6 separate regions of the Homo sapiens genome follow, and all the other regions are linked to region 3. The links are contacts of gene promoters, found by promoter capture Hi-C in blood cells and fetal thymus (Javierre and others, 2016). All regions are on one chromosome and are shown on one strand. Each heading gives the region's core, a stretch centred on a gene start or on the middle of the fragment in contact. The rest is flanking DNA. Distances are from core to core; before and after follow the strand shown.

The links. The method cuts DNA at HindIII sites, captures the fragments that hold promoters and counts their contacts. A CHiCAGO score of 5 or more calls a contact.
Region 1: a fragment that was not itself captured here is called in contact with the fragment with the promoter of ERI1 in region 3 in 6 of 17 cell types (M0 macrophages, naive B cells, total CD4 T cells and 3 more); the score reaches 7.1 in M0 macrophages.
Region 2: a contact is called between a fragment that was not itself captured here and the fragment with the promoter of ERI1 in region 3, in 3 of 17 cell types (M2 macrophages, naive CD8 T cells and M0 macrophages). The highest score is 7.4, in M2 macrophages.
Region 4: a contact is called between a fragment that was not itself captured here and the fragment with the promoter of ERI1 in region 3, in 5 of 17 cell types (total B cells, naive CD8 T cells, naive B cells and 2 more). The highest score is 12.6, in total B cells.
Region 5: a contact is called between a fragment that was not itself captured here and the fragment with the promoter of ERI1 in region 3, in 1 of 17 cell types (total B cells). The highest score is 5.5, in total B cells.
Region 6: a fragment that was not itself captured here is called in contact with the fragment with the promoter of ERI1 in region 3 in 1 of 17 cell types (activated CD4 T cells); the score reaches 5.1 in activated CD4 T cells.

What each region holds. Positions count from the first base shown.
Region 1 is chr8:8,335,249-8,339,154 of GRCh38, reverse strand. All of the region lies in intron 4 of PRAG1 (PEAK1 related, kinase-activating pseudokinase 1), which reads left to right. Among named protein-coding and RNA genes, the nearest start is that of PRAG1, 49 kb to the left of the region's middle. The HindIII fragment of the contact is 4,489 bases long and covers 1-3,526 here.
Region 2 is chr8:8,375,783-8,379,563 of GRCh38, reverse strand. PRAG1 (PEAK1 related, kinase-activating pseudokinase 1) reads left to right here. Exons shown (of 6, transcript NM_001080826.3): 3 at 1,486-3,317. Among named protein-coding and RNA genes, the nearest start is that of PRAG1, 8.8 kb to the left of the region's middle. RefSeq lists an enhancer at 2,540-3,479. The HindIII fragment of the contact is 3,713 bases long and covers 1-3,397 here.
Region 3 is chr8:9,000,592-9,004,550 of GRCh38, reverse strand. It overlaps ERI1 (exoribonuclease 1), which reads right to left and starts at 1,654. Exons shown (of 7, transcript NM_153332.4): 1 at 1,380-1,654. The coding sequence starts at 1,487. LOC105379227 (a long non-coding RNA gene) reads left to right here and starts at 1,809. Exons shown (of 3, transcript XR_002956680.2): 1 at 1,809-1,890. The HindIII fragment of the contact is 5,155 bases long and covers 690-3,959 here.
Region 4 is chr8:8,269,555-8,273,504 of GRCh38, reverse strand. No RefSeq gene overlaps it. Among named protein-coding and RNA genes, the nearest start is that of FAM85B, 44 kb to the right of the region's middle. RefSeq lists a silencer at 2,824-3,118. The HindIII fragment of the contact is 3,264 bases long and covers 505-3,768 here.
Region 5 is chr8:8,357,099-8,360,938 of GRCh38, reverse strand. The region is part of intron 3 of PRAG1 (PEAK1 related, kinase-activating pseudokinase 1); the gene reads left to right. Among named protein-coding and RNA genes, the nearest start is that of PRAG1, 27 kb to the left of the region's middle. The HindIII fragment of the contact is 324 bases long and covers 1,798-2,121 here.
Region 6 is chr8:8,315,594-8,319,697 of GRCh38, reverse strand. It overlaps PRAG1 (PEAK1 related, kinase-activating pseudokinase 1), which reads left to right. Exons shown (of 6, transcript NM_001080826.3): 6 at 396-1,962. The coding sequence ends at 1,544. Among named protein-coding and RNA genes, the nearest start is that of PRAG1, 69 kb to the left of the region's middle. The HindIII fragment of the contact is 7,469 bases long and covers 1-4,104 here.

The sequences.
Region 1 (3,906 bases), core at 33-2,532, 670 kb after region 3:
TGGGTCCTAAACCACACATTCTCACTATCTCTTTCTCTCTCTCTCTCTCTCTCTCTTTTGCATCTACATGTGCATGTACCCACATGTACACACTTACTGGACACAGCAGATGTTTACATAATGTTTGCTGAATTAAGCATGAAGACTACATTAGGCCACCATCTAGCCTGCTTTTTGGATTAAGCTCTAAGGCCTATGGGTGGGTCTGTCCTCCACTGGGCATGTCCCTAAAAAGGAACTCTTGTTTTTCCATAGTTGTGGCCTGGATGGGTCATATTTAAAACCTCTCACCCTTTCAGCATTCTTTGTGTATGTGTCCTCTCCTGCGTTTCTCTTAGACTTGCGTTAGCATGTTGGATTTAGACTTGTACTCACATGACTTCCTTTTTCAGTCCTATGGAAATATTTCTTCTCAATAGGCAATGACACAGTAGAGGGTTCCATTGCAAATTTACTGTCAGCAACATTATTCTACCTAAACAATAGGTACTGGCTGAGACAAAAGAGTGTGTTATAAGTCAGTCTGTGGTGTGTTCTGATGAGAAACCTCTGACAGTTCTTACTTAAAAACAGGAAATATCTTAGTCTTGATTTGGGAGGAATGTAGCAACAACAGATTTTCTTTTTCTGTAGATTTTTCTAGGCTCTTATCTTCTTCCTTTTCCCAGCCCATTGTATAACAAATTCAACAAGGCAGATTATTCCATAGAGGGCAGTGCATCTCGACCACGAGCCCCTGTGCTGGTTAGCTCTGATCCACTCTCTTGGAGATTGTAACCAGTTCTGGGGAGTGATCTACAATGAACCATCAGTCACCAACCAGCGGGTGTCAGGCGAACTGGACTTCATGGCTTCACCACTTTGTTTCCCAGAACCAGTAAACCATGACGTCCACTCGCAGGGTTCCTAAGAACTGACTAGGAAAGATAAGGTTAAAACACATGGTACATGGGTGGATGGGATATGGTAGGATATTGGGCAGCCCAGAACATGAGTGCTTCTTATAAAGGCTTCCAGAAGAGACAGAAATCAATGAAGGCTGGTGGAGGGTTTAGGGAAGACTTTATGAGAACATGGGACTTAGAGATCAGATCTGAAATGTGGCCAGAACTGGGGAGGTAGGGGGTGAGGAGGAGAGGGCTTTCCAGGTTTAGAGAACAATAAAAGAGAAACAAAGCCACAGGGATGGCAGTGCATGTGGGAGAAGGATGAGACCAGTCTGACATGCTTCAATAGACACCGGCAAGGGGAAATGGGACATGAGCTTGGTGGGAAGCAGGGGCTGAATTGTACACGGCTCTCACAGCAATCTGTGCAGGTGGGAGACAGAGAGCTGCCGGAGGTTTGTGAGTTCAATGCTGGAGGTTTGCGAGTTCAACGGGGAAACCTATTCAGACGTTTTCTCATGTTCGTTTCTGAATAACATGAATTAAAATGAATATATTGTCGTGGTATTCCTTTATCACAAGCTAGTTGTTCAGTAGAAATGCATTTCAAAACTTAGACTCCCAGACCAACAAGAAGATATGTACCTTGTCCCTGGACTCTAGCCCCTGAGAGCCAACCATTCTATCTGCTGCCCCTGGACATGGCTCTCTGTACCCGGAACCATGTTTTGAAACTGGCAAGAGACCAAAGGCATGACATTCTTTCTCTCTCTCTCTCTTTCTCTCTCTCTCTCTCTTCTTTTTGACATCTTTTAAACATTAATCATTAATCTGGAGAATATACAGAACTACTGGTCATGTAATATGAGAAATCCTTCATTCACTTCTCACCGCTTACCAAGGCAGCTTAGATTTGTTATTGCACAATTATCTTCCAGTCCCATGGGTCCTTAACTCACTTTTATCTTGTAACTGAAATATTTATCCATTGCAACTTTAGTTACTGTTTGGCATGCAGTACCAAAGCTGAGAGATTAGATCCAAATAGAAAAAGAACTAGTTCACGCTGAAGTTCTTTGAAACTTGAATGTAGTGTCTGCCTTTCTAATATTATACATTAAGCCAAAAGATACCATTAGACTCTTCTACATTTATTTTGTCAGTAAGAATCTGCTAGTGAAAACTATGCGTTTCATTGACTTTTTCCATCCACAGTATAGGCTGGCCTGAATGAATGGAGGAAAAAGTCATTCCAGGGCATATCATGATAGTAGTTTGTGTAAACTTCTTGGAAATGTATCAGCGTTAATGGCTAAAGTTAGTGATTCATGCTTTATGTCGGAGGTGGGGGGAGGGGGGAAAGGGGTGTGGGGAGGGGAGTGGGGGGAAGGTTTTAGTTGTATAAGGAAAACCCTAATAGAAATCTCTAACTTTGTTACATTTTTAAAACAGGTGTTTATTCTAAATGTTTCAGTGGCAAAATGCCACTTTTGTGTCAATGTTAATTTCACCTTTTTATACTTTTATCAGAGTCAATGGCTGAAGTTAATGATTTGCGTTTTATGGGTGGGGGGAGGTTTTAGTTGTATAAGGAAAACCTAATCGAAATCTCTTACTTTGTTACATTTTTAAAACAGGTGCTTATTCTAAATGTTACAGTGGCAAAATGCCACTTTTGTATCAATGTTAATTTCACCTCTTTATACTTGTATCAGATTACATATTCCTCCAGTGCATCTGTTATCCCATTTGTCCAATTCAATTGAACAGCCAGTCAACTCAGTGCAAGGAAAATTTGTCGAAGCAGTTGTTTGGTTTATGCTTGGTTTAGGAGGTACAGACTGCATGTGTCAGGACAGATCCATGAAGGCTGCCAAGGGGAAGGTTTTTGCAGGGAATGGATGGTTGGACGTGTGAGGGAAATGATGATCAGAAATGGTCATCAAGAGACCTTTTTGCTTTAAGTGGTTACTTGTAAATTTGCAAACCTAATGTCTCATTGAGATCATTTCCCTCTTTGATGTAGGATACCATTAAAATTCAGTTCAGCAGTTCGGCAAACATTTCTGAATGCCTGGAGATTAGAGAAGATTAGAGAGTTCTCTGTTGAACTGAAACCATTGGCACCAGCAATAGATAAGAAGTCTGAAAATACAGTTCATATAGATATTCTCACTTGCATGAATACATGTACCAGGGCAGTGATACCATTCTTATTTTTATAGCTGGCAAACCAGAGATACAGAACACTAATTAAATATATTGACAGTAGTCAGTCAGCTTGTTTTTCTCAACAAGCTGACTACTACTGGCAAATTTTTAAGAAATGCATATTAATGCAGTCATTCATTTGATAGATATTGTTGATTGCAAACTCTGTGCTGGGTACAATTCTAGATGCTGAAGTTTCAGCAATGGAAATAATTCCCAGTCCCTTCAAGGGGCTTACATTCTGGTAGGAGAGATAGACAATAAGAAAGATAAGATGTAAAGTAGCTACTGGTCAGAAGGCAGCGAGTGCCAGGAGAAAAATCAAGCCAGGAACAGGGTGGGGAGGGGTGGAAGTGCTCCAAAGGAAAAAAACATTTATTTTTAAAAATTTTCTGTGGCCTGAGCTATAATATCACTGAAGTGAAGCTTCAACTTCATTTAAACCTTCCCCGTTAAACTGAATTTTAAATAATATATTATTGTTCCAATAAAGTCAATACTTTTTTTTTATAAAAATTCAAACAACAGAGAAAGGAATAAAATGAAAAGTCAGTTTTCTGACACCCCATCCCAGCTCCTACCATCACTTTTAAGATTTTTTTCTGTATCATCCCAAAAATGTGTATCCATATGTGAAATATAAAATTCAGTTCTACAGATTTTTGCACTTTATCTTGGGGCCTTTCAAATGAGAACCCCTAGGACTGCCTCATTTTTTGAAATTGCTGCTTATTTTTCATTATATTATTTGGTTATAAATCCCTCTCTTGCTGATGCATGTCTAGGTTGATTTCATTGCAAGACTTAC
Region 2 (3,781 bases), core at 292-2,791, 620 kb after region 3:
ATTTCCTTTGGTTGCAGTGAACTTGATGTCCCCTTCCGGGCTGCTCTGTTTTTTCCTAAGCTGCTTACACCCATTCTCCAGGCCATTCTCAATACCTTCAACCTTCACCAACCTGAGCCAGGGACTCTTTAAGCTCAGAATCACCTGGGAAAGAAGCCAGAGGCAGGCCCTGCTTTGAGGCTGCTTCTAAAAGTGGGGGTAAAGGAGGACTTTAGACCAGAAGGAGGAGGAAACGGTGACTTCAGGGATGGTAATGACCAGTCCACATCTCTGTCTCATAGCCCAACGAGTCCAACCACTCGCACAGGCTCAGGCTGAGGTCACTGCTGTAGGCGGGAGAAAGATGACCTCTGGCATAGTTGGAAGCAAAGCACAGAAAGAAGCGAGGAAGCCCAGGTCCAGTTCAGAAGCCACCCCTCACCCTGATCCAGCTCAGAAAACACCCCTCACTCTGATCCAGTTCAGAAGCCACCCCTCACCCTGATCCAGTTCAGAAACCACCCCTCACTCTGATCCGGTTCAGAAGCCACCCCTCACCCTGATCCAGTTCAGAAACTACCCCTCACTCTGATCTGGTTCAGAAACCACCCCTCACCCTGATCCGGTTCAGAAACCACCCCTCACCCTCCTGTTCTGCCCACACCCACCCACCCAATGTGTTTCTTTTTTCTTTATTATTATTATTATTAATTATCATTATTTTTGGTACAGGGTCTGGCATTGTCGCCCAGGCTGGAGTGTGGTGGTGTGATTTGGGTCACTGCAACCTCCGCCTCCTGGGCTCAAGACATCCTTCCACCTCAACCTCCCAAGTAGCTGGGACTGTAGGTACACACCACCACGCCCACCAAGTTTTTGTATTTTTTTGTAGAGATGGGATTTGGCCATGTTGCCCAGGCTCGTCTTGAACTCCTGGGCTCAAGCAATCTGCCCTCCTCGGCCCACCATAGTGCTGGGATTACAGGTATGAGCCACGGCATCTGGCTCCAGTGTGTTCAGTGTGTTTTAAAAACACTTAAGACTTCGATTTCTTCAGGCATGCACTGTGATTGGGTTATCAAAAAACCCACAAACTCAAAGCAAAAATTAAACAAAACCCCAAGCTCCATTTTCCAATCCAGTGGAACAACTTGTGTCACCCAGCAGCTGGTTGCAAGGGAGGAAGAAGGCACAGTGTTCTTTTTCAGAGTTATATTTTTCTTTTCCTACTTCACAGACTTAAGCCAAAAGCATTACAGTCCATGGGTAGGAAGGGCAGCTCAGTGTCTGGGAAGACAAATGGCTCAGCGGGTGCCCCAGCAATGATCACAGGGCCGTGGGGAGATGAGAAGGTGGGCGTGCACTGAGTCCCCGGCCCCAGCGCCCCTGCACTGCACTACAGAAGACATTCTACAGTATCGTTGCCCTTCCCTCTCACTTTTCCTCTCTCTCTTTTTTCTATGACAAGTTCTAATATAAGTCTTTTTGCGTTGGGCTTGTGTGTAGGTCATCTGGAGACGAGCCCCTGGCAAGCTCCCCCTCCCGAAGCAGGAGGATGCCCCCGTCGTCTACCTGGGCAGCTTCCGAGGTGTACAGAAGCCTGCTGGTCCCTCTACCTCCCCTGATGGCAATTCTCGCTGTCCCCCAGCTTACACCATGGTCGGCCTGCACAACCTTGAGCCCCGCGGCGAGAGGAACATTGCCTTCCACCCGGTGAGCTTCCCGGAGGAGAAGGCTGTGCACAAAGAAAAACCCTCATTTCCTTACCAAGACCGGCCCTCCACCCAGGAGAGCTTCCGCCAGAAACTGGCTGCCTTTGCTGGGACCACATCTGGCTGTCACCAGGGCCCTGGGCCCCTGCGGGAATCCCTGCCCTCGGAGGATGACAGTGATCAAAGGTGCTCGCCCTCCGGGGACAGCGAGGGTGGAGAGTACTGCTCCATCCTGGACTGCTGCCCTGGGAGCCCTGTTGCCAAGGCTGCCTCCCAGACTGCAGGTTCCCGGGGCAGGCATGGTGGCAGGGACTGCTCACCCACGTGCTGGGAGCAGGGGAAGTGTTCCGGGCCCGCAGAGCAGGAGAAGCGGGGCCCGAGCTTCCCCAAGGAGTGCTGTAGCCAGGGCCCCACTGCCCACCCATCCTGCCTGGGCCCCAAGAAACTGTCCCTCACCTCGGAGGCTGCCATTTCTTCCGACGGCCTCTCTTGTGGCAGCGGCAGCGGCAGCGGCAGCGGCGCCAGTAGCCCCTTCGTCCCCCACCTCGAGAGTGATTACTGCTCCCTCATGAAGGAACCTGCCCCAGAGAAGCAGCAGGACCCTGGCTGCCCAGGGGTGACCCCTAGCAGATGCCTTGGGCTGACGGGGGAGCCCCAGCCCCCGGCCCACCCCCGGGAGGCTACACAGCCTGAACCCATCTATGCTGAGAGCACCAAGAGGAAGAAGGCAGCTCCGGTGCCTTCCAAGTCACAGGCCAAGATAGAACATGCAGCTGCTGCCCAGGGCCAAGGCCAGGTATGCACAGGTAATGCCTGGGCCCAGAAAGCAGCATCTGGCTGGGGCCGGGACAGCCCAGACCCAACTCCCCAGGTGTCAGCCACCATCACAGTCATGGCGGCCCACCCGGAAGAGGACCATCGGACGATCTACCTGAGCAGCCCTGACTCTGCAGTGGGGGTGCAGTGGCCACGAGGGCCTGTGAGCCAGAACTCCGAGGTAGGTGAAGAGGAGACTTCGGCTGGGCAGGGGCTGAGCTCCAGGGAAAGCCATGCTCACAGTGCCAGCGAGAGCAAGCCCAAGGAGAGGCCCGCCATTCCCCCCAAGTTGTCCAAGAGTAGCCCTGTAGGGTCCCCGGTGTCACCGTCTGCTGGAGGGCCCCCAGTGTCACCGCTGGCTGACCTTAGTGATGGGAGCTCTGGCGGCAGCAGCATTGGGCCCCAGCCTCCATCCCAAGGTCCTGCTGACCCCGCTCCTTCCTGCCGGACCAACGGTGTCGCTATCAGTGACCCATCCAGGTGTCCCCAGCCTGCCGCCTCGTCAGCCTCGGAACAGAGGCGGCCCAGGTTCCAGGCAGGCACCTGGAGTCGTCAGTGCCGGATAGAGGAAGAAGAGGAGGTGGAGCAGGAATTGCTGAGTCACAGCTGGGGAAGAGAGACCAAAAATGGCCCCACGGACCATTCAAACTCCACGACCTGGCACCGTCTCCACCCCACAGATGGCTCCTCTGGGCAGAACAGCAAAGTTGGGACCGGGATGAGCAAATCCGCCTCTTTTGCCTTTGAGTTCCCCAAGGACAGAAGTGGGATTGAGACATTCTCACCTCCTCCTCCGCCTCCAAAGTCGCGGTGAGTACCATTGTCTGCCTGGGACTCTGTCTGCAGGGCAAAGGGCTCTTCCAGAAGAAACCTTTGCCCTCATCAAAGCTTTCAGGCCCAGGTCCCAGAATCTGCCCAAAGGCCCTTGTGCCTTTATGTAAATTTCCCAGGGTCCCAGTGCAGCCCTCGGAGAGCAGGAGTTGTGGCCCTCTTTGTACCCAGCAAACAAACCTACTTGTGGTCCCTGCTTGGGATTGGTGATTTAAAATCAATCTTTCACCAAGCTGTTGCCATTTGTTGGTGCCTGTATTTTTATAATCTGGTCCTCTTTTTATTCCCCAGTTCTCTGAAGTGTCTTCAGTAGGCTTTTTTCCAGGAAGTCCTGAATATTTTCCGTTAATTTAAACATGCAAAAGAGGGCAAAAGGAGGTTATGCTACAAGATTTAGGGAGGGCTGGGTATGATGGCTCATGCCTGTAATCCTAACACTTTGG
Region 3 (3,959 bases), core at 405-2,904:
TGGGACTACGGGAGAGGGCAACTACGACCGGCTTTTTGTAAAAAAAAAAAAAAAAAAAAAAAAAAGTATCACTATAAAGAGCATGCAACAGTAAGTTTTTAACAATTACTACCGTCACTAAAGCCAATTTGGAACAGAGACCTAGGCCTTAAGTAGCTGTAAAAGTGTCAAGACTTTCAAATATAAAGAAGCATATTCAAACACACTTCTTTTACTAAAAATAAACTTCGAAATTTATTTTAAAACCCACTTACAGGATGAGATTGACAACGTATCTCAGGCTGAAGAGGGAGGCAGGTGGAAGAGTGGTTCTTTACAAGAGAAGGGATGTGCAAGTACTCTTTGAAATAACAACCTTAGAAGGAGAAAGATAATTGCAAGGATCCAAAGGAAGTGCACACAGGGCAAAAGGAACATACAGAGATCCTTAACGAGACCTTCTTTCCAATGTCAAAGAACACAAGGCAGCGAGGGGCACTGGGAACAAAAGGGAAAAAACTGTGTGAGATGCAATTACCAAGGGAGGCAGGCACCCGACCCCGCAGAGCAGCAAATGGAAGTGACTCAGGAGGGGAATAAGCCAAATTCATGTTATTGAAAAGCTCATTCTAGCTGCCAGATGGAAACTGACTGTGGACGGAAGGAGCAAGAGTTAGGAGGCCTCTTGCAAATACGCACTTTATGAAGCTTTACGAAGTGTTCAACATGTTTATTATTAGGAAAAGATCAATTTTAGTATTCAATCACTTACAATCCGCAGCGCTAGTCAACAATTAACATTCGTTAAATAAGTTTTAAGACTGTTCTACAACTTTGCCACTGTAACTAAGTTCAACCGATGAGATGTCAAAATGATTCATTCAATCTTATACTATGGTTATATGAGACACCAGTTAATGAGCAAAAGCAGCTAAGACGAAGCTCCACTTAACAGGTACAGAGACAGGGATGCTGGTGAGTGCTTTTTAAATTTTTTCTTTTTTTAAAAACAGGCATGAAGTGACATACCTAGCGTATATGGTGAGATTTTAAAAACATAAAGCCTTGCAAACTACCCATAACGGCTACATGGAGTGACAACAGCAACCGTGAACACAGAATTAAGTTTAAAGCAAAACTCCCTCTTAGAACCTGTTAACCCACTGTAGACAGAACTGGTCTTGACGATTTCCTCCCTCCCAGAGAGTGATTCGGCCCTGAGGGGGCTCCAAGACACCCACCCGAGGATAAAGCCAGGGAGCTGGGCACCGAGGAAGAGGCTGGGGTCCAAGGGCGCACAGCTGCACCTTCTGCGGGACACCTGAGAAGAAAGGGGTGCCGAGGGCGCTTTGGGGACGGGGCAGCTGGCGCCAACAGCCAGGCGCGGGTCGACTCCTCACCTCGGGACTGGGACGCGGCGGCTCCTCCCCGCCCTCCGGCCGCGGCGACTCCAGCAGCGCGAGAGCCACGGCCTCGCCGGCAGGCTCTTTACTCTGTGGATCCTCCATGCCGGCTGTCACGCCAGAGGAGAGTTGCTGGAGCCGGACACTTGCTAACTCTCACTCTGCAGAGCCCGAAAGCCTCGCCTTTCTCCGTTGAAAAATTACCGGGCTCGCGTTCCCGCGGCGGCGGCCACACAAACTCCAGCGGCCACCTCCCACTTCCGGGAGCGTGTGGCGTCCACACGCCGGGCAGGCGCAGTGAGCCGGCGTGCGCGGAACGCCAGCGCCGCAGTCCACAGGGGGAGGGAGGACGAACAAGAGGGAGGCGCGCCGGTGAGAAGACGGGGCGTGGCCGGCCGTAGGCGGAGCTAGCGCGGGTTGAAGTTGCGCAAGGATCTAGTCCAGTCACTGGAGGGTAGCACCGGCACGTGTGTTCCCGTCAGTGTTTCCTGAGAAGGAAAAAAGTAGGGTGAGTGGGAAGATATCATAGAGAAAGATGTTTTCGACCATAAAAAATAATAAAACAATTCACATTTTCCATAAGGAGTTTCCTAAAACTTCCACTCTGGGCAAGAAAAGAAAATGGGTCGGGACTTAGTGTCCCACTATAAACAATTAGAAAACGGAACAAAATATAGGAGACACCTATTCAGACATTGGACAACGGACAGCTGTGGACTGTTTTACCTGAGAGAAAAGAAATAAAAGGAGCCGTATATCATCCTGCCCTTTTGCCCAGAGGCGATTTCCAGTCTGTGGTGCGATGAAAGGAAATCATATGGAAACCTAGGATCTCCTGGGTTGAAAAGACAGAGATTGGAGTTGACGAAATTGGGGTAGGCCAAGTCGGTTGGAATTTGTAGGGCAGAATTCTGGAGAGGAGGGAATTACATGGAAAAAGAGCTTCAGAAATCTGCTTAGGAGTACCTTGAATCTTTAACTGAATAAAAAACGTGAAACTCCACAAGGCCAGGAAAGAACAATTACTGGGGAGCAGTACACCAAACAATGGTGAGAGGTCACACAGAACTGGGAATCATTTGAGCTCCCAGCAACCAGAGTGAAGAGATTATTGAATACCATGGAACACGCAATAGAAACCTCAGATGTGAAACTGCCATTGCAAAATTATCATTGAGACAGTGAAAGAGATCAGACCTAACCAACTCCATCTTGCTTTTAACCTCCAGGCTATCCTTATTCATTCCTAGGCGTAGGCCAAACTAACACTGGGAGGAACTTAGTGTATAGCTTATAGTTTAAAACAAAGGTGATAGCCCTTTCTCAAAATAAACCCTCTTCTTGAGACTAGACTGCTTTTGTAGGACTAGTAAATTAGCCGAAAGATTAGAAATTATGATTTAGGACTCATGCAGCTGAAGGCTACAAGATTCTAACCCTCTCCAAATTGCTCCTGGGGATAATATCACTATTGTAAAATCTAAGATCAGTGCTTGAGATATTTTGCAGGCCCTGCACTTGATGGATCAGCTGGCACCTCCCAGATTGATAAACTGACTCACCTGATCTTGGATAAACTAGCTCATCTGATTTTGTGTCCCCCACGGGAGGAACTGACTCAGTGCAAGAGGACAGCATCGACTCCCTATGATTTCATCTCCTACCCAACCAGTCACCACTCCCATCTCACTGGCTTCTCACCCACCCAATTATCCTTAAAAACTCTGATCCCCAAATGCTCAGGGAGACTGATTTGATTAATAAAACTCAGGTCTCCTGCACTGCCAGCTCTGCATGAATTGCTCTTTATTGCAATTCCCCTGTCTTGATAAATCGACTCTGTCTAGGCAGTAGGCAAGATGAACCTTTTGGGTGGTTACGAAAGTGTCATGCCTTAGTGAGATATAATAACCGTAGACTGCAGGACCCAGAACATAAACTACTGTAGATTCTTCAAAAGCCTTAAAACAAGCCCTGAAAGGATCAAACTGCTCTGTAAGTAACCTAATTACCTGTAAGAACAAATTCTAAAACTCTCTGAAAGACTACAGTAAAATCCAGGATTCAACAACATTAAATTCAAAATGTGAGACATCCAGTCAAAAATTGAAAGACACGCAGCACTTGGGGATGCTGAGGCGGGAGGATTGCTTGAGCCCAGGAGTTTGAGGCTGCAGTGACCTATGATTGCACCACCACAACCCAGCCTGGGTGACAGGGTAAGACTCTGTCTCAAAAGAGAGAGAGAGAGACCAAGTGGTAAGAAAATATCTCACGAAGTTCATAGAAACAAACCCCAAAATGATAAAAATGATGGAATTAACAGACAAGGATTTTAAACACCTGTTATGAATATGCTCAAAGATTTAAAGGAAGACATGATAGGAGAGAAACTGGAAAGATTTTTGAAAAATCAAATTTCTGGATGGAGGTGAAAAATATTTGAAATAAAAATTTCTTTGGATGGGATTGCTAGCGCATTAAGCAATGCAGAGAAAAAGGTAAATAAATTCAAAGATATAGCAACAGAAACAATACAAAATGACACACACACACACAGAAAAAAGATGAATACAG
Region 4 (3,950 bases), core at 887-3,386, 730 kb after region 3:
CACATCGCTGCAGGTTCTGATTCAGCAGGTCTGGGATCAGGCTGGAGATTCTTACCAGTGAGGACACCCACACTGCTTGCCTGTAATCGCATTTCAGTAGCGAGGCCTGGAGTATTTGTAATGGTGTATAGCCCTCTGGTGGCCATAGCGGGAATGTACAACCATTTTGTTACACACTGGTACCTTCTTTTTCTGCGACTGTTAAAAAAATAAATCCCTCCCCAAAGCCAGCAACTGATGTAGCTGTAACCAGCATAATATTGGCAAAGCCAACATAGTTTATTAATTTGGACTCTATTAGTTGGGAATTTGGAGTCATTCCAGACAGACCACACTGCCAGTGACGATTAACGAAGAGACATGTTTAGTCTACTTAAACGCTAAGGCAAATGCATTTTTTCCAAAACAACATGAGAAACCAACCTCGTAGTAGCCTTTATATACAAATAATAAGTGAGTAACAAATGATTCATTTTTATTAGTTTTTTTAAAATTCTCTAAGCTTTTAATTTGATTCCCCTATCCCTGTCAAGTGCTGCCATAAATTGCGTTTTTTATACAGGGTTCTCCAATTCAGGCCTGTCTCTATGAATCAGACTAGCCTACTCTTTAATTAAGAAAAATGGGGCAGTTTTATAGTAATTTTGAATTTCTCAGACTTTTGGCTCCTCTCAGTCTATGCTTCTCAAACAGAAAATTAAAAAAGGGCTATAGCACTTGACTAACTATTGTCAGTGGTTCAAATTAAACAAAGAACGCATAAATGTTTGGAAGGTATTCAACTTAGGAAACACTACTTTTTTCTGTTTTTTTTTTTTTTTTTTGCTACAAATATGCTTCTTATTTTGAATGTTAATAGACACATTTCCTGGCTTTGCCATGGTAAATAGATAAATGTTCCAGAAATCATTCCATTTTTTGAGATAACAAAATTATTATCATTCTAGGATGGAAAGTGAACATCCTACCCAAAGAATGTACATATACGCAAACTCGAAGTCCACCTCATTGAAATAAACTTGCAAACTATTGTCAATATCAACTTGACGCTGACATAAACCTCTTACCTCATGTGTCACCCGTTATCACTGGACCGTAGCCCTGAGCAGATACTGGAAAATCGTTCACTGGCTCAGGGGAAGTTTCCTGAGAATAGTCATGACAGTGTCCCTGTTTGTATGTGGACGCTAAATGAGATCCCAAAATGAGACTGTTTGCTTTGCTGATTTTCCGTAGTATCATTATATCCCTTTATGTTACAAGAGTTTCACAGATCTTGTACATTCTAGGAAGTTTTATATGTTGATTCAAACCTTTTATTTATCAGCCTTATAAAAACAACTGGAGTAATTACTACTAATGATCTGGGCTTGGCAATTATTGAGAGAACTGTCTGCATAAATAATTTCAAAGGCTCCTGTTTGGGGGTTTAGGAGTTAGGGTGACTTTTTCTGTAAAGACTTGGTGAGAAGTACAGAAAAATGGTTATTTCTAGATGTTTCCCTACCCTTAGAGCCTCTAAAATCAAACAACAGTTTATATGCATTTCTGACTCAGGTTCATGTGGATCATGAATATAACCAGACGTCACCTGTTAATGGCCTTGATAGTTGGTTTATTAACCTTGATAGTTTCATTACATTTTAAAATATCTATCATAGAGATAAAGCAGGTGAATATTCCCCATGCCTAGCAGCTGGTTTTGCTTATCTGCAATTCATAAGTGTTCATTACATCAAGGTATAAGGAAGGAACAGAACCTGGATTGATACCTGAAATTCAAGACATCAGTCACTTTCTACTTTAAAATCTAATTGATCCCTTTCTTTAATTTATTTTTTGTTTGTTTTTGATTTTGTTGTTGCTGTTGTTGTTGTTTTGAGGTAGGGTCTCACTCTGTCACTCAGGCTGGAGTGCACTGGTGCAATCTCAGCTCTCTGCAACCTCTGCCTCCTGGGTTCAAACGGTTCTCCTGCCTCAGCCTCCCGAATAGCTGGGACTACAGGCACTCACCACTATGCCTGGCCAACTTTTGTATTTTTAGCAGAGACAGGGTTTCACCATGTTGGCCAGGCTGGTCTCGAACCCCTGGCCTCAAGTGATCCACCTGTCTCAGCCTCCCAAAGTGCAGGGATTACAGGCATGAGCCACCGTGCCCTGCTTAAATCTAATTTTATTTCCCTCCATGTCTTTCATTCTATGGAGTTTTTCTACTAAGTGAAGCTGAGAAAACAAAAGTAATAATTGGAGGGATGTTTAAGACAGAATTCGAAGCCAGCAGTTCCATATGCCAGCTTTTTGCAACAACTTAAAGGAAATAGTAAAGAAGCAACATTGGTTAGAACAAATGTATATTTCACTACCCAAACCCCCAAATCACACAAGAAATGGGGCACCCATGTTCTTCCATACCTTTGATGCCCATTATGACAACCACAAAAGCCACTGGAAAAAAAAATTAAACATTTATGGGATCTGTTTATCCAGAAGTTGAGTAAGGAAAGAGGTGGGGACAAGACACAGCTCCCAGTGGATGTGAGGAGTTTCCATCTCCCAGGAAGGAGCGACTAACACCAGCTTGGGGCTTCTTGCACCCCAAATATTAAATAATTCATTCTGTATTGTTACATTTCCTGACTTCTAAAAATCAAACATATATTTAAGATATAACCTGAAGTGTTAAGTAGGTAATGGGTACCAGTAATTCCCATAGGGGATAGAATCGGTTTACTCCGATGACCTCTCTCCTGCCTCTGCAAGACACTTAAGGAACAGCAGCTTTCACAAAGTAGAAGGAAAGGAAGGATGACTGTCGATTATGGACTTATCTCTGCCTCAGATGAGGCTGGCCAGAGTACACACTCAGTCTGTGGGTAGGGTGGGGCAGAGGAAGGAGGTATTTCTCTCTGGGAGTCATGGGGCAATGTACAGATAGGTAAATACTGAAAACCAAGTCCCTGGAAGAATGCAAAGTCAGGGCCAAAATAAACATTCCAAACTGGGACAGCAATCCCAGGAGCCAAACAATGAATGGGAAGTAAGGTAAGGTGCCAAATGGGTTAGAAAAACAAGGCAGAAGAGAACCGCGGAGAGAGAGTATCGGGCAAGACCCAAAGAGGGGGCCATGACTGAGAAGTCATGCAGACCACATTTAGAAGAACTAAAATGGCTCAGAACTAACACCCGCCCCCGACCCCTTTCCCAGCAGGCCTTCTCCTTTAGAATGTCTCTAGGTTTGCCTGGGAGAAGCCTCTAAAGATTTCTGGAGCCTGCATTTCAAAGAAGGAAAGTGGGCTCATTGTCACAGTGGATCAATTCCTGGAGCCCCTGTTGGGTCCTTGGCGGGTGCTCTTGGTGTCGCAGGGAGCTATGCAGAGTGGTGTGGATGTTTTCAAAAGAGGGAAGCTAGAGGCAGAAAGCCATAGGGTTGGTGGCCTCAGACACCTTGAAGGGCCCAGGAGGCCCTCTGGTTTCTGGAATATCAGCTCTGCAACAATCTGAAGGAGATTCAGGCATCTTCCATTGAAATGTGTTCCCTGGGGGATGGACAGCTACCAGATTATGATTTATTTTGACCTTAGCACACCACAGGGTTGACTAGGGGTCTTTTGAAGTGGAACCCCCAACCTCTAGGTACCCATCAACTGCCAGGCCTATTGCTATAGAAAGGGACATTCTTGGGGAGGTACACAGGGCATTGTGACAGTAAAGGCCACTAAGTGGAGACAATGAACTAGTTATTTTGGTCCCTGTAGAGCTGCAGAAGCTTCCTTTGGGTTTGCCCTTTTACCAAGCTAATGATTAATTATTTATATAAGTCAACACAGTAATAAGCAATTTATGTGCAATTCCCACTGAATCCTTCCCACACTCTATAGCAGACCCTCCCCAGCATCCACGACCCTGTTTTTCCCTCTATAGCACCCCAATTCTGTTTTGTTCTCCACCTC
Region 5 (3,840 bases), core at 710-3,209, 640 kb after region 3:
CCTCCAGGTCAAAATATTCTGGCAGCAGATTACAAATTCCCTGCTCAGGAACCGCAGTAGGATAAAAATAATGCCACCCACTGAGATAATATGAAAGATTTAAGGGAAATAATAATCAAGGGGATTCAGCAATCAGCACCCTGAACCCAAAATCTTTCCAAGGCATTTAACATACAACAAGAAAAGGATGAAGGACCTATGAGATTCTTGGACTAAGAGAACAGATGAGAAAATATGCAGATTTAGACCAAGAAAGCCCCCTTGGGCAAGGAATGTTAAAACTGCACTTTGTTACTAAGAGTTGGCCAGACATTGCTAAGAAGTTACAAAAATTAGAGAACTGGAAGAATAAGTCAATAGAGGAGTTGTTAGGAGAAGCTCAGAAGGTATATTTGAGGAGAGATGAGGAAAGACAAAGGCAGAAAGTGAAAATCTTTTGGCAGAATTCACCAGGACAGATGATGTAGGGGGCTAAGTCTAGACCCACACCTGTAGGATTTTCTAGAGGAGGCAAGAGGAGAAATTTTGGTAATTCAGGAATGCAGAGAGAATGAAGGCAAGGTCAGTATTTTAGAGGAGAAGGTAAAAGTAAGTGCCATAGGGGCTGTGGATATGAAAATAAAGAGAAGAAGAAAAGGGGCCCTGGGCTTGGAAGACAGGGAGGGCAAGACAGATGTTACAGATGTGGGAGGCCAGGTCATTTTAAGAACGAATGTCCTGAATTGGAAAAAGCAGAGGAAGCTCTCCCATTTGTGACTACTTCTGAAGAAGAATAGAGGGGTCAGGGGCTCTGTCTTTTCTATTTCGAGTCCCACCAAGAGCCCTTGATAAATTTAGAGGTGGGACCCAAACATGAATTAATCACCTTTTTGATTGACTCAGGAGCTGCTCACTCATCTGTTGGTTTTCCTCCAGCTGATTTAGCTCGTTCCTCAGAGGAATTGACAGTTTCCAGGGTCAAAGGAGAAGGATTTAAGGCAAAAATTTTAGAAAATATGGAAGTTAAATATCAAGATCAATCGACTTGTATACAATTTTTATTAATTCCTGAAGCAGGAACCAATTTGTTAGTAAGGGATTTAATGATAAATTAGGTATAGGTTTGCAAGTTGGTCCAAAAGGTTTTCTAACCTCTTTAAATTTGTTAACTGCGATAGATGAAAAATACATACATCCAGATGTCTGGTCAAGGAAACTGAGGAAAGCTACGAATTCCTCCAATACATATTTGGTTAAAAACTCCAGGGGAGGTAGTAAGGAGAAAGCAATACCGTATTCCTTTATAAGGAAGAATAGGGTTAAAGCCTGTAATTGAAGGACTTATTAAAGATGGGCTGCTCAAACCTTGTATGTCCTCATCCAATACTCCAATTTTACCAGTCAAGTAATCAGACGGGTCATACTGATTAGTGCAAGACCTTAGAGCTATCAATCAGATAGTCTAGACGACTCATCCTGTTGTACCTAATGCTATTTCTAATTGGCTAGAAGGATGGTCCGGTCAATAGAAAGAAACTGTAGCCTCAATTCTTACTTCTATAGCAACTGTAATAGGCATACTCCTTCTTCTTGGGTGTTGTATTATACCATGCATCTGGGAATTAGTAATAAGATTAACAAAAACAACTCTTACTAAAACCCATCTTAACTCTCCTCCACCTTATTCAGAAAAAATTCTCCTTTTAGAAATTCAATCAGAGCAATTAAGCCAAGAAATATTAAAACAGTTTGAAGAGGAAAAACTATAAAAAAATAAGAGGAGGGAATTGTGAAAAGTAAAAAGTTCCTCTTCAAGCTTACCTTTTTTATTAAGGAATAAATCATAAGTGTTAGAACTAATAGTTTATCTTAAAGACTAGCTTTTAACAATAACTCTTCATTAAACCTTACATAGTCATTAAGTGTAAAAGGATAAGCATTTTATATATACATATACTTTAACTACAATATGAGTTTTGGCTTGCTCAGGCATGTCCCAGGTCACAGCTTATATCCCTTCCTTATTTGGAAATGTTATTGCTTCTATAAGCCTTTATGTAAGCAACTTCCTCTTTTCCTTTGTTTAGCACTGTCTTTACCTATTTAGGAAAGTTTTAGATTGTTAGCCAATTGGGCTAAGCTTAGACTGTGAGGTCCAGCTCCAGCCAGTGGAGGTAGGACAAAGCAATAGGGACTTCACCCATAAGGGATAAATATTCCTGTGTCTCTTTGTTCAGTGTGCTCTCGTGGCAGGATTGCTGATGGGCAGCACCCTTTCTGCAGAAAGTAAAATTGTCTTGCTGAGAAAACTTTTTGTCTGAATGCTGATTCTTCTTTGTAGCACCAAGGAATAAGCATTCCTTTCCAACAGAAATGATGTGTCTTTTTGTATGCTTATGAATTGACTGAGGGCTGGCAGCCCCTTGGTCACTTCAGTAGGGGAGTTGGTCACCTGAAAAACCAAGACAAGATTAGAGGGTTGAGACTTTCAGTCCCACTCCAACCCACAGGGTTGGGGAGAGAGGCTGAAGGTTAAGTTGATCACTAATGGCTGATGCTTTAATTAATCATGACTATGTAATGAGGCCTCCATAAAAACCTAAGAGGACAGAGTTCAGAGAGTTTCTGAATAGCAGAACCTCTGGGGTTTCCTTGAGGGTGGTTTGTCAGAGAGGGCATGGAAGCATCATGCCCCTTCCCACACGCCTTGCCCATGCTTCTCTTCTTCTGTATCCTTTGTGATATACTTTATAATAAACTTGTAAGCATTTCCCTGAGTTCTATGTGCAGCTCTAACAAATTAATTGAACCCAAGGAGGAGATTATGGGAGCCCCAATTTATAATTGATTGATCAGAAGCACAGATAAAACAACCTGGGCTTTGGATTGGCATTGGAAGTAGGGGGAAGTCTTCTGAAACTGAACCCTCAACCTGTGGGATCTGACTCTACCTCTAGGTAGATAGTGTCAGAATTGAATTGAATTTGGTAGCAACCAGCTGGTGTTTGCTGCAGAATTGATTGCTTGCATGGTGTTGGGGTGGACAACTAACAAGATCTGAGGTCACAGAAGTATTTTGTATTGTGACAGTATAGGAGGAACTGAATTTGTTTTTCCCATACATTCACAGAACCATATTGTGTTTATTCATTCGTCTGTTAATGGATACTTAAGTTGCTTCTACATTTTGGCTACTGTGAATAATACTGCTATGAACACAGGTAAGCAAATATCTGTTAGAGACCCTGTTTTCAGTTCTTTGAAATATATACCACAAAGTGGAATTGTTGGCTCATTTGGTGATTCTATTTCTAATTTTTTGAGGAACTGCCTTACTGTTTTCCATAGCAGCTGCACCATTTTGTATTCCCACTGACAGTGCACAAGGGTTCCAATTTCTCCACATGTGTCTTCAAAACTTGTTTTGTTTTTGTTTTTTATAGTACCCATCCTAATGGGATGAGTTGTTGTCTCATTGTGCTTTTGATTTGTGTTTTCCAAATGATTAAAGATGTTGAGTATCTTTTTATGTGCTTACTGGCCCTTGTGGGTTTTTGTTTTGTTTTGTTTTTTGACAAATTTAAGTTCTTTGACCAGTTTTTAATTGGATTGTTTGGTTTCTTGTTGTTGAGTTTTAAGTGTTGTTTGTTTATTTTGGATATTAACCGCTTATCAGATGTAGGATTTGAAATATATTCTCCCAATCCATGTGTTGCCTTTTCACTCTATTGATTATGTCCTTTGATGCACAACATGTTTTTATTCCCATGTAGTCCAGTTTATCTATTTTTGCTTTTGTTGTCTTTGCTTTTGTTGTCATATCCAAGAAATCATTGCCAAATCCAATGTCATTAAGTTTTT
Region 6 (4,104 bases), core at 1,332-3,831, 690 kb after region 3:
TGAGTTGTAAAAGAGTGTTTTTTAATACAAATTCCAGAAACAAGTCCTTTATTACATACATTTTGGCAGATATTTTCTCCCAGTCTATTACTTGTCTTTCCACTTTCTTAATGGTGTCTTTTGAAGCACAAAAGTTTAGAACTTTGAGGTTAAGTTTGTGATTTTTCTTTTCTTTTGTGAACTATGCTATTGGTGTGATATTTAAGAAATCTTTGCCCAACCCAAGGCCTCAAAGATTCTGTCCCATGTTTTCTTCTAGCATGTGTATGGATTGCTCTTACCCTTAAGCCTATGTGGATAGGCTTATTGCACGTAGATACTCAAATGTTTCCACACTCTTTGCTGGGCGGAACCATGGGCCCCACTCTTGATTTCACTTCTTCTTCTCTCCACAGATCTGCAAAGCCCCTGAGCCCAAAACAGTCTCCTACTGCAGCCCGTCCGTGCCCGTGCACTTTAACATCCAGCAGGACTGCGGCCACTTCGTCGCCTCGGTGCCGTCCAGCATGCTCAGCTCCCCCGACGCGCCCAAGGACCCTGTGCCTGCCCTGCCCACACACCCCCCTGCCCAGGAGCAGGACTGCGTGGTGGTCATCACCCGAGAGGTGCCACATCAGACCGCCTCCGACTTCGTGCGGGACTCGGCGGCCAGCCACCAGGCGGAGCCCGAGGCGTACGAGCGGCGCGTGTGCTTCCTGCTTCTGCAACTCTGCAACGGGCTGGAGCACCTGAAGGAGCACGGGATCATCCACCGGGACCTGTGCCTGGAGAACCTGCTGCTGGTGCACTGCACCCTCCAGGCCGGCCCCGGGCCCGCCCCCGCCCCCGCCCCGGCTCCCGCCCCCGCCGCCGCCGCGCCTCCCTGCTCCTCTGCCGCCCCGCCTGCTGGTGGCACTCTCAGCCCCGCAGCCGGCCCCGCCTCCCCGGAAGGGCCCCGGGAGAAGCAGCTGCCCCGGCTCATCATCAGCAACTTTTTGAAGGCCAAGCAGAAGCCGGGCGGCACCCCAAACCTGCAGCAGAAGAAGAGCCAGGCCCGGCTGGCCCCCGAGATCGTGTCTGCTTCCCAGTACCGCAAGTTCGATGAGTTCCAGACAGGCATCCTCATCTACGAGCTGCTGCACCAACCCAACCCGTTCGAGGTGCGCGCCCAGCTGCGGGAGAGAGACTACCGGCAGGAGGACCTGCCGCCGCTGCCCGCGCTGTCCCTCTACTCACCCGGCCTGCAGCAGCTGGCACATCTGCTACTGGAGGCCGACCCCATCAAGCGTATCCGCATCGGCGAGGCCAAGCGCGTGCTGCAGTGCCTGCTGTGGGGGCCTCGGCGCGAGCTGGTGCAGCAGCCGGGCACCTCGGAGGAGGCGCTGTGCGGCACGCTGCACAACTGGATCGACATGAAGCGGGCCCTGATGATGATGAAGTTTGCGGAGAAGGCGGTGGATCGCAGGCGGGGCGTGGAGCTGGAGGACTGGCTTTGCTGCCAGTACCTGGCGTCTGCGGAGCCCGGGGCCCTCTTACAGTCGCTGAAGCTCCTGCAGCTTCTGTGAGCCAAGCCCCAGCCTGCACCGTCGCTGCCCCTTCCCTGCCTAACCCTTTCCTGTCTCGCCTTGGAAGCACCCATGTCTCCCTGGGAAATGGTACAGATGACTGGGATACCTGGATGTAAAATATATAAATATATATATAGAAAATACATATACCATATATAAATATGAAAGACTAAGGATGCTGTTGCCCGTCCACACTCGTCTCCTCTCTGCACTAAGTCCTCCCTGTTTTCTTCTGTAATTATACACATTTCCAGTTCCATGCAACGTCCTGAGGACAGTTCTGTGAACTGAATGCAGCCTGGACACTGGCCTCAATACCTTGTTTAGGATTTCTTCACCCTTTTGTCAAATTGTTATTTAAAGAAAAAAAAAAAAGAAGAAAATTCCATTAAAATTTTTTTTGGTTGAGTCATGAGCAAAGCTCTTTATCCTTAAGTGCCTGAGTGTATTAATATGTTTGGTGGGTAAAACGGAGCTGTCTTTGGTCTTAACGCTTTTCAGGAGATAGAGCAGCAGTCTGCAAAGGACCAGGCAAGTGGGTACCAATTCATCTTCCCTGTTTCTCTTCCCACCTGGCAGCCTTCTGGAAAGAATCCAGACACAGCCGCTGTGATCCCAGTGGTTTGGAATTCAAACCCATTTCCAGTTTGCTAAAGCTGGTTGCCATTTGTAAAATTCAGAGACGTGCCTGAAAACAGAGTCCACCCCAGATGGCTCAGATGAAAAGAACTTAAGGGGACCACTTAGCTAGGTGTGATCAGGGTTATGAGAACAAAGGGTGACAAGGCCAAAAGCAAGGGCCAGAACAGCAGGACAGGGGAACATACAGGAGGTATTCGCGCTGAGATCTCTACAGCCGGAGATGGGAGTCTCTGTTTCCCATCTGTCATCTCCAACCTAATAGGATGCCAGACAGCAAGGGACCTTGGGTGATGCAGTCTGGAGGATCAGCCTCCTGGGGCAGGGAGGAGGGAGAGAATGCATGGGACGCCAGGTGGCAAACGGCCCACTGTTCCTACCGTACTAGATACTGGCAGGGCAAGCATAGAATTCAGGTGTTTCAACTCCCAGGCCAGTACTCCCTCTGCTGTTCGGGCCTCCTTCAAGTCTCCTTTTCTAAAACCTCATTTAACGCACCCATTGGCACCTACAGCTTACTGGAGTCAATGTTTGTTACTATGCCTTTAAAAACACACAAGGAAAATTAGGAGGCATCAGATCTTTCCTCCTCAAAACTAGACACAGGCACGAAAGTCAAAAATTACCTATTTGAAGAGAAATAGCCCCAAGACTCTTGTATTTCTACCTAATGGGTAATCTTCCAACTACAGAACTAATTGATTTCTAAAACCTTGTGAATAACTCTGGACAAATTAAAACAAATACAAAGATCTGAATGGATGTTTTAGAAACCTGGGGATGCACTTAGCAGGAAGGATAGGGAACTCTCCCAGGTCCTCTTCTGCATATTAATTTCAATCCTTTTGTGAGTTCCACCTTCCAGCCCCTGACTACATGTAAACACATTCATCTTTCCATGCATCGTTGGTGAAGACAGCACCTGGGGCGCATTTGTAATTTCAATTGTTTCCTGAGCATTGAGGAAAGAACTGAACCAAAACCAGCTCCCAACCCGTTTGTACAAGAGAAGGAGTCTGCAAACGTGGAAATCATATTTCTCCCCAGGACCTATCTGTTTCGGGGGGGCATTATTTGCCAGTTCTTTCTTTGTCCCTCGGAATTTTCCAGGCAAACCTTCTGCCATCAATTTGCTGTCTTTTGCTTTTTTGTCCTTTTTCACTTCAAGTAAATAAACAATGGAGAGGGAGGAGCAAATATTCTGACAGGGGAATGCAGTGCCATTAGAAAATAAGGCCCAGCGTGGTGGCTCATGCCTGTAATCCCAGCAATTTGGGAGGCCAAGACATGTCAATCACCTAAGGTCAGGAGCTTGAGACCAGCCTGGCCAACATGGAGAAACCCTGTCTCTACTAAAAATACAAAAATTAGGTGGGTGTGCATGCCTGTAATCCCAGCTACTCAGGAGGCTGAAGCAGGAGAATCACTTGAACCCAGGAGGTGGAGGTTACGGTGAGCCAAGATCATACCACTGCATTCCAGCTTGGGTAACAAGAGTGAGACTCTATCAAAAAAAAGAAGAAAGAGAAGAAAAGAAAAGAAAGAAAAAGAAAGAAATAAAGGAAAAAAGAGAAAGAAAGAGAAAAAAAGAAAGGGAAAGAAAGAAAGAAGGAGAGAGAAAGAAAGAAAGAAAGAAATGTCTTAGGAGCCACATTTTTAATTCCTGAATTAATTGCAACTTTTTTATACCACCCACTTCAGAAAAAAAAAATGAGGTTGTAAAAACTGTTCTAAGAACCAACATGAACCAAAAAATAAAGGATAAAGAAGAAACAATAGCAATAAATTCTGAATGAGAGGAATAAGAGCAATTAAACATAAAACTTACTTCTGAGCTGTCCACCAACCTATAAAAAGAAAACTGGTTGCAGAATTCTTTTTTGTGTGCAATTTTAGGAAACAGTTCGTCAGAAGGAAG